2 separate regions of the Homo sapiens genome follow, and region 1 is linked to region 2. Evidence: promoter capture Hi-C in human tissues and cell types (Jung and others, 2019). All regions are on one chromosome and are shown on one strand. The core of a region is centred on a gene start or on the middle of the fragment in contact, and the rest is flanking DNA. Distances in the headings are between cores, read along the strand shown. Region 1 has its middle 5.8 kb from the start of NTS. Region 2 holds the start of ALX1 (ALX homeobox 1).

Region 1 (4,400 bases), core at 1,480-3,979, 590 kb after region 2:
CAGCTCCAGAGTTGGGACGCTAGGCCCCAGTGGTGTGGGTTCATGAGTGGGATCTTCCAATCCATGGTTTGCACAGTACCATGGGAAAAGCACAGTTTCCCCAGCTGGGTAGCATGCTCACTCACCGCCTCCCTTGGCTGGGGGTAGGGGGTCCCCTGCCCCATGTGGCTCTCAGGTGGGCCACTGCACCACACTGTTCTTCCTCTCTGTGGATCATGCCAGCCTCCTAGTCAGTTCTGATGAGAGAACCTGGATACCTTGGTTGCCGGTAAAGGATTCTCACACTTATTATGGTTCTTTTAGATGGGAGTCTCCCAACGCCGCTGTTTCTAGTGGGCCACCTTGGCCTCAGCCCCACCCCTCCACCCCAGTTTGTACTTTCTTGTGGAGAAAAATCATCTGAAGCTCAGGAGCACAGAGATGATCCCCTTAAACAGAACCTAAATAGGATATGTTACCTGCCTGGTCCTTGTAGGTATTTGAGTATGGTTATCTGACATATGACCATGTCCATTCAACTTTAGGGCCAGAGAGACTTAGAAAAAAGGTGATGATGTTACATAGTAAAACAAAAGTTTATCCAAGTAGAGATTCCATGATCTAGGAGCTAAAAGATTTGTGTTTACTGGACGATAGCAACAGAATTGATTGTGCCAAAAGCAAGACATTCTGCTGAATAAAGACAAAAAATAGGCTGTCCAAAAAGAAAGCCTATTTCAAAGTGACTAATCCCTTTGATGTGTTCCAACTTGTGGGGATGCTATACAGAAACTCACAGAGAATAAATTATTTCTCAAAGTAGCTTGACCGATGTTGGAGAATCAATCCTTCCCCTGAGAAAAGAAGTGAGGTCAGACTCAGAGCAGTTAGGACCTATGTGATTAAGAGTCGGAAGGTGAAGGAAATTTGTAACCCATCTAGAATATCTGGACTTCTGTCTCTTTCTCTGAAAAATGAAAGTATGAGACTAGCTCCATACAGCCATTTTCAGTTTTACGTTTTCTGGGTCAATGAATTATGATGACATTAAAATATGGTCTAGTACTGTGAGTTCTTGCTTGATATTTCCATTCTGTACATACTAGTGCCGCCACCTAGAGTACAAAGTGGGAAATATTCTCCTTCCCAGGCACCAAGCTTTGACTCCCCTCAGGCTAAAACCCCACTTTTTCTCTGATTCTTCTATGCATACTTTCTGTCTTCTACCCAGTCACGACAACTCATTGCATTCAGAGCCCATTTAGGTTCTTCATGATCTCTGTGTTTAGAAGAAGGATTCTGAGATCAAGGGTCTGTGTTTTTGTTTAATATGTGTAATACAGCTAAGTCTGAAAAGGTGGAAAAACATGGTTAAACTGATGAATTGGAATTAAAATCACACCTAATTTTTTCACTAAATGTACATTCAAGTTAAAAGTATTAGCCTATACTTTGTTTGGCATAATATTTTATACAGCATGTTAATACAAGATTTTCTTTGACTTATTACTTGGGTCTGGTATTAATGTTACAAAGATTAGCTGTTGCTTTGGAATGAAAACATTGCAGTCCTACCCATACTCTACTTAGTAAGTCCCATTGTCCTTAGTTAAACTCTTTGTATCTCTTATTTTTTTTAACCTGCACAATAGGAATAATATCCTGTGAACTCTGCTTCACGGTATGCTATGTTACATGAAATAAAATTAACCTGGCATATAGTAGGTTTTCAATAATGAATTTGAAAAGTATTCTTTAGATTACTCCTAGATCTGTAGTAGTGGTTACAGTGGCTGTTTCTTCTAGACTCAGAATGCTCTAATGTTGACTATAGTCTTCTCTGTCTGACAGCTTGCCGGTACTTATCCTTTCTGCACAAATTGGCTCACCAAATTTGGGGCCTTCTGTAACACCGTACACCCAGTTTTCCTCAAGGACAACTTAGAAAATTCCAACTGAAATTAAATCAATATTCAAGAATCTTTGAAAGGAAGCATTTTTTCATACTATTTCATTTTGCTAGGAATTTCTCCGAAAGAGGTTTCCTGGATTTTATTATTCACAGATTGGAGAATAAAAATGTCCTTGTGAGAGGTGAGGGAGTGGTAGCTTATTCTAAAACCATCAGGGAGGGATTCTTGGAATTCGATTAATTCATTAACGCATATTGTCAATATTTACCGAATGATTACTATGAGGAGAATTATTTATGTTCTGATAATTTAGGGAAACAAGACAAGAATATCCATGCTTTTATTAACAAAAGACAAAAATAAATGAACAAATAAAGACTTGTAGAGATTGAATGGGGATAGTGGTGAAATAGGTTTTAAAATAAATGGTTGTATCAGTCAGCTATTGCCACAAAAATGGTGTATAACAAGTGACTCCAAAAGTCAATTACTTTAAAGCAAATTATTTAACTCTGTTCACATGTCTCTGAATCAGCTAGGGTAACCCTGCTTTAAGCTCGGGAATCTCTCCCTTACATTGCAGGTGTGCAAGTCAGCTGGGGCAGCTTTGCTCCATATGTCCCTCCTCATTTTGGGATCATCTGAGAAAAGAAAAGAGTTTCTCATGGCAATGGCAGAAGAGAGAAAGGGAAAGCCCTATGTGTCAAGCACAAATCAAGTCTGTCTTTTTCTTATGTCTACTAACATCCCACTGGCCAAAGCAAGTCTCATTTCCTAAGTTAAAGTCAAAGAGTGAGGAAGTATATTTCATCCACTCTGGGAGGAGTAAGGGAATGAATATTTGATGAACAGTAATCACAGTTTTCATTGCAGATCTTTAACAAAAAAGCTTAGCATGTTGCACAAAAGCCAGAAGACCAATGTGCTTGAAACATAGGAACAGAAGGGGAGAATGGTGGAATATGATGATAGAGAGGAAGACAAAACCCACTCAGGTAGCATAGGCCATCATCAGGCATGACAAGAGGAAACCTTTAGAATGTTTTAAGCAGAGAATGACAGGAATAGATTTACATTTTTAAAAACTTTTCTGGAGTTTTTGAAAGCTGAAAGGGATCAAGGTTGTAGGGAGACTACTCAAATGGTTATTATGGCAGCGCAGGAGAAAGATGGTGGTGGCTTGGACTTAGGTGGCAAAAATGACATAAGGAAAAGTAGTTAGATTTGAAATATATTTTGGAACAGACCTGCACCCCAGGGGGTTTTGCTAGCTTGGAAGTGGAGGGGAGAGAGAAACAATGTAAATGGATTCTAGTTTTTAGATCTGTGCAACTCAGTAAATCATGGTTCTAATAATTGAAATGAAAAACTCTAGAGGGGCAGAAGATTATTAGAAAGATGTTTGGAGGAATCAAAAGTTTTACTTTAGACAATAAGTCTGCCTAATGAAACTCCAAGTAGGGCTGCTAATGAGGTGATTGCATATACAATTTGAGTAGTCAGAGATACAAACTTGGAGGTTATTAGGAAATAGATAGGATTCAAAACCATAAGACTTATCAGATTCACTGGGAAAGCACAGTAAATTTAAAAAGAATCATAAACCCAAGGAGTATGAATAATATAAAACCATTACATTCCAAATTTAACATGTAATATCTTCTTGAGAAAAAGAAAAAAAGTGTTTCACTGAATTTGCTCCTGATAGACGGTAGCTCAAGTACATCTGCTCTGTTTCAGGTATTGCAGGTGCTATGGAAATTTTCTTAGACTTTGTAATATTAAAAAAGAAAAGAGAAAGTTTTCTTATAATAAGAATTTGTCTCATTTATTACATTAGATAATTACACTAATTTATAAAACTAAGAAACATGAAAGAAGAAATTTGTCAGGAACATTTTTTTCTGTAATACTTTTATTTTGGTCTTATTCAAAAGGGAGACCTATAAGGAAAACTACCTGAGCATTACACATAATGGGTGGTGATTTTGTGAGTATTTACATTTTTTCCTAGACACGAGAAGCAAGATTATAGGTGAAGTCAGCAATGGCTGCAATGTGGAGCATGGTTAGTTAAATACAGTAACTCATTAACATGTAAGTCCCAAGCAAACCGTATTTTGTAATTACGGTTTAAGTTGCAAAATATGCTTTGACTACAGAAGTCAGTCATCAATTTTTCCAGGTTAATTACCTATATGGATGCAATAACAGAGATAGGAAGAGCTGAAAGGAAATGAGCTAGGAATTTGTAAGGATTATGGGCAAAGCAAGGTTACATGCAGATTGGGAAACTGAACGTTTGTTTACATTTACCTAAATCTCCAAGGTTGGGTTATACACATCCTATGTGGGTGTATGCATGCACACATCCATCTGTATTTCTAGAAAATATACTTTAATTGAACAGAAAAATCAATTGGGTTCACAGACTTTGACATCATTATTTGTTCAGATGAATCAGAGTTACAGCTTCAAATGATAGACTCATTTATAGAAATGGAGCAA
Region 2 (4,543 bases), core at 1,559-4,058:
AGCTGTTTCCTCTGTTATGGGCACATGTGGTTACATGTCACAAAACACACGGGATTCTGTGTAGTATATTTGAGTTTCCAGGGAGCTCCAGGGATATTATGTTGGTTTGGTGACACCTTACACCCCACCCCTTCAACCATTACCATCAAAAGTGAGTTTTGGTAATGGGGCAGAAACGGGTTTACTAGACAGCTCTTGTCCTTGGCTACGCTGTACTTTTCTCTATGAGTTGGACCTTTATTGGCATACAAGTATCCTAGAACTTGTATCACATGTCTTTCATTTAAAAGACACGTAATGTTTTTCCGGAAATTTAGGGCTTTTAAGACATATATTTATAAACAAGCTGACAGAGCTCTACAAGATAACTTGGTTGATAACTAGTTTGTATATTTCCTCAAGTCAGCAATAGGTGTTGTTGTTGCTGCTGTGAATTTTTGTAAAACATATTAAACGACCATTTTCTTATCTTTCCCGTGTTTAGTAGAGAAAGTCAGACTTTCAGGATACCTGAAAATAAGAAGGTACCGAAGGGGATAGGAAAGAATCGAAAATGGCTAACCCAACAGGAGTGAGTGAATAACGCAACACTCAACGTTTCCACAAGGCTGCCCGGGGGCCCGCTGGAAAGTGTCCAAAGAACGCAGAGCTGAGGCTACTGCTCACGCAAGGTCGGGATGCTACAGGACACTTTAAGAAGAGCGTTTCAATGGCTTCTTCCGACACCTCACTCTCTCCCCCTGGGCCTGACCTCAGAATGCCAGGTTGTCTGGTTTGGAGTTCCTGCGGCCCGACGCAGCCTGGCTTCCTGCTGAAGCTCAGTCCCTAGTGCTTTTCTTTGACCTTGCTCCCCTGAAATTTAACAATCTGCAGTTGGTTCTTGCAGCACTGCTCTGGAGAGAGTAATAATAATACAGCAGAAGCTAGTTAGTCCCAGGAATAGTGTCCACTTGCCTGAATCTGAGTGCGCGCTCAAGGCCACACTGAGCGCTGCGCCATGTGAACTAAGCTTGTGCGCCTCCTTGGGAGAACAGTCTGGGTTGGACTTTGGCCGGGCGAGCAAGGCTGCTGCTGCCAGCTGATCTGCTCGGGATCCGCCGGTCGGATCTGGGTGCTTAAGGCCGACCCTGCCTTTCGCGCAACGCTAAGGAGCAGCTCCGGGGTGCACAGCCCTCCCTGATTGTTACTCTCTGGCTGAGGCCTGGTCAGGTCTCGAAGAAGGTCTCACCAAAGAGGCGTGGGTCAGCTAAGACCCCCGCAGAAGGTGGAAACTCTCAAACCCATCAGCATGCCCACCACAGCTGGGCTTGGCCTCACCATCCTCAGAGTCCGGGCTGCTCGGCCTGCCCGAGGCCTCACCATAATTGCCAGACTTGTCTGGGGAAACGCGACGGCCGCTGTGAGTGCCAGTGTTGACAAAGGCTGTGTCAGGACGTCTAAGCAGAGGCCTACCTGGACCAAAACCTGTCTGGCTTATTTTCACCAAATTTGCTAGCTTAGGGTGCCTGACGCAAATGCGATTTTGTGCCCAGGGCACCGAACGCATTTCCCCCAAGCGCCGCGGGCTCCTAGGAAGCCAAGAGTCGTGCCAAAAGTCACACAGAAGGGCTTTCAACCTAGCAGTGCTGTCCTGCCTGCCCTACCATCCCCTCTGGTGGAAATGGAGGCCTTGGACCTGTCCGCGCCCAGGACGCCGCGCCGCGAGTGCCCGCAGCTCCGCGCGCTCACCACTCACTCCCAGAGCGCTTTTCGGAGTAACTCCACAGCAACTCTTTAAAATTAAAAGTAATTTCTGTAAAAATATGCAGACATTCCTCTTCTTCATAAACCCCTATTTGTAACAATCCTCACTTTGGCATTAGAGTAAAAGCCTTTCAAAGGCACTGATCCTAACGGGTTTTCTTAAAATAATTTGGGTCTAATGATAAAATCGTGGACCAAAGGGAAGGGTGGCGAAGAGGGTGTAGGGAATTGGTTGGCATTAGTATAATGGCTTCATTGCCTCTTGCTCGGCTTCTCTCTCCCACCCATCGCCACCGCGTCCACACTCCGCCGCATTCCAGAGAAAAAGAAAAGGCCACGGCCTCGTAAAGCTCCCAGCTGGCCCGGACCCCGAGCTCCTCCCGGTTAGAAGCCGAAGCGGCCCCTCTACTACGGCGGCTGCGATTAACAGTTGCCAATGCATCTGGTTCCTTGGGCTTCGGATTAATGTGAATCTTCCACGTAAACGATTTACGGATGAAATAAAAGCCTTTTAGAGCAATATTTCCTTTCAAGTTCTTAAGACGCCTCTAAATCTTTCTGGTAGTGAGTGGCCGGCATGGGGGCGGGGTGGGGACGGGTGGCTCAGGAAGGCGCAGGCAGTAGGGAGTGGAGGTTTAACTGCTTTGCGATCTCACCAAGATCTTCCGAAATGCCAGTCCACTGTCACGGCGGCAATGAATCTGGGTGTCAGGGGCTCGTCTCTCCTGGCATTTGTCTGAAATGGAGCTGTCTGTCTGTCTATCCTAGGCCTGGACGCCCTCTGCCCGGGTAAGTGGGGAAAATGGGGGTGGGGTAGGGGCGGAGGGGGACCTGGGGTGGAGTTAGTCGCCCGCCTATTTTCATATTCATTAGAACTGGGAGGCTGCCCGAGGAGGCCAGCTGAGTTTCAAGATATAAAAGCAACTTCGGGTGCTCCTTTTCCAGCCGGGACGTATTAAAGGGACCGGAGCGGGGCAGTTCCCGACGCCGCAGCGCTCGCTTTCCCTTCCCTCCTCTCTGGCCCTCCCTCCTCCCACCCACTGGCTCCCTCCCCCAGCGCTCTCCAGTTTCTGTGCCCCAGGAGCTACGCGACAGTCTTCCAGGATTATGGAGTTTCTGAGCGAGAAGTTTGCCCTCAAGAGCCCTCCGAGTAAAAACAGTGACTTTTACATGGGCGCAGGAGGTCCTCTGGAGCACGTTATGGAGACGCTGGACAATGAGTCCTTTTACAGCAAAGCGTCTGCAGGCAAATGCGTGCAGGCCTTCGGACCCCTGCCCCGCGCCGAGCATCACGTGCGCTTGGAGAGGACCTCGCCCTGTCAGGACAGCAGCGGTGAGTCGCTAGCGCCCCAGCCGGAGCCGCCGCAGCCCTTCCGCAATCGAAAATGCAGGATCGGTCTGATCAGGCAGGGAGGGAGAAAGGAGAAAAGTGGGAGCGAGGGACCTGGAAGGTGGAGGAAGGTAGTGGAAGGTGCTCGCTTTATGAAGCGGTGTTACTGCTGCTGCAGCCTTTGGGGGCGGAGGGCGGAGGGAGGGAGAGATCCAGCACCGGGTTGCCTCTGAGCGATTCTCCTTTCGCTGTAGGGTCTGGTCGCCTACGGATCCCTGAGTCCTTCTGTAATATTGGTTCCTGGAGTAAACTGATAGGGCGCTAAATAGAGCGTAATTGAGTCAAGACAGAACGCTTCCTCTGCGAGCCCGCCTTGCAGTCCGGGCGGTAGGAACTGAAATCGATCACAGCTCGTTAGAGTACGTCACTGTCGTCACGAGTAGGGAAAAAAAAACCGGAAAACAAAAACAAAAAACAAAAAACCCTTTGAGCTCCTTTAGGTAAAGATAAATCTTTTTAATTTTCCAAGACGTGGCGATATATTTTCAAAGTTTGAGGATCCCTAGATTTCTAGCGTGTGTGAATTTGTAATTTCTGCTTTTTTTTGCGTTTGCAATACAACACGCGTTGAATGTTTGTTAAACACTAAAGCACACTAAATAGCTTCGGGCAAACCATCCCCGGCCTAATCACTCATTCCCAGATTCTACGTTTTGTATTTTTATGACTTCACATTAAAAGTCACCTAAGGAGTCTTTGGAATGCTTCTGGGTGAAATCTTCAACTTTGAATGCCCAAGTATCTCCAAGTCAAAATGTTATCAAAACAAACCATCTATCTTTTCTATCTTGTAACCTAATACTAACCTATTATTTCAGATCGCGACAGCTAAAGCACGTTTACAATTCCAAGAGAACTTCTCCTTATCATTGTATATATTCCACAGTTAAGCTATAAGGGGCGGGTTGCTTTAAAATAACAAACGAATTAAGTGTGAAATATTTACAACAAGCCCCCTGCCCCCTATTTTATAGAAATTCAAAATCTGACAAAACACTGGCCTGTAGAAGCTCATTTTCTAAATATTTTGAACACAAGTTTTTTTCTTTTATTAATCTCATATTTAACTAATTTTATTTAACGTTGCAAGTAACTTTTGACTAAGGGTAAATCAAAAATAAAGGTGCAAATGATAGAGAAAATAATCAGCTAAGTCGTTTCAGTCATTTATTTAGAAAGATTCGAGCGTATACTTTTTGTTATTCTTACACTGAGTTGTTGGTTTTCTGGCTGCGTTTCAGACCTGGTATCTGTATTTGTGGAATTCTTAGGTGCATGCCTAACGTTATTTGAATTGACAGGTCTTTCTTTAATGATTCTGCAATGTCTTGTATTGACTCTGGATGGACTTGATCATAATATTTTATTTTGAATAGTCGAGAATCCAAAATAAGAGACATAATTGATGCG

Evidence for each region. Contacts are between HindIII fragments. The study calls those that stand out against the background at their distance.
Region 1: a contact is called between a fragment that was not itself captured here and the fragment with the promoter of ALX1 in region 2, in 2 of the 25 tissues and cell types used here (mesendoderm cells and thymus).

Annotation. Positions count from the first base shown.
Region 1 is chr12:85,866,273-85,870,672 of GRCh38, forward strand. No RefSeq gene overlaps it. Among named protein-coding and RNA genes, the nearest start is that of NTS, 5.8 kb to the right of the region's middle. RefSeq lists a silencer at 1,017-1,116. The HindIII fragment of the contact is 6,135 bases long and covers 1-4,400 here.
Region 2 is chr12:85,277,412-85,281,954 of GRCh38, forward strand. It overlaps ALX1 (ALX homeobox 1), which reads left to right and starts at 2,809. Exons shown (of 4, transcript NM_006982.3): 1 at 2,809-3,076. The coding sequence starts at 2,851. RefSeq lists a silencer at 2,900-3,194. The HindIII fragment of the contact is 12,363 bases long and covers 1-4,543 here.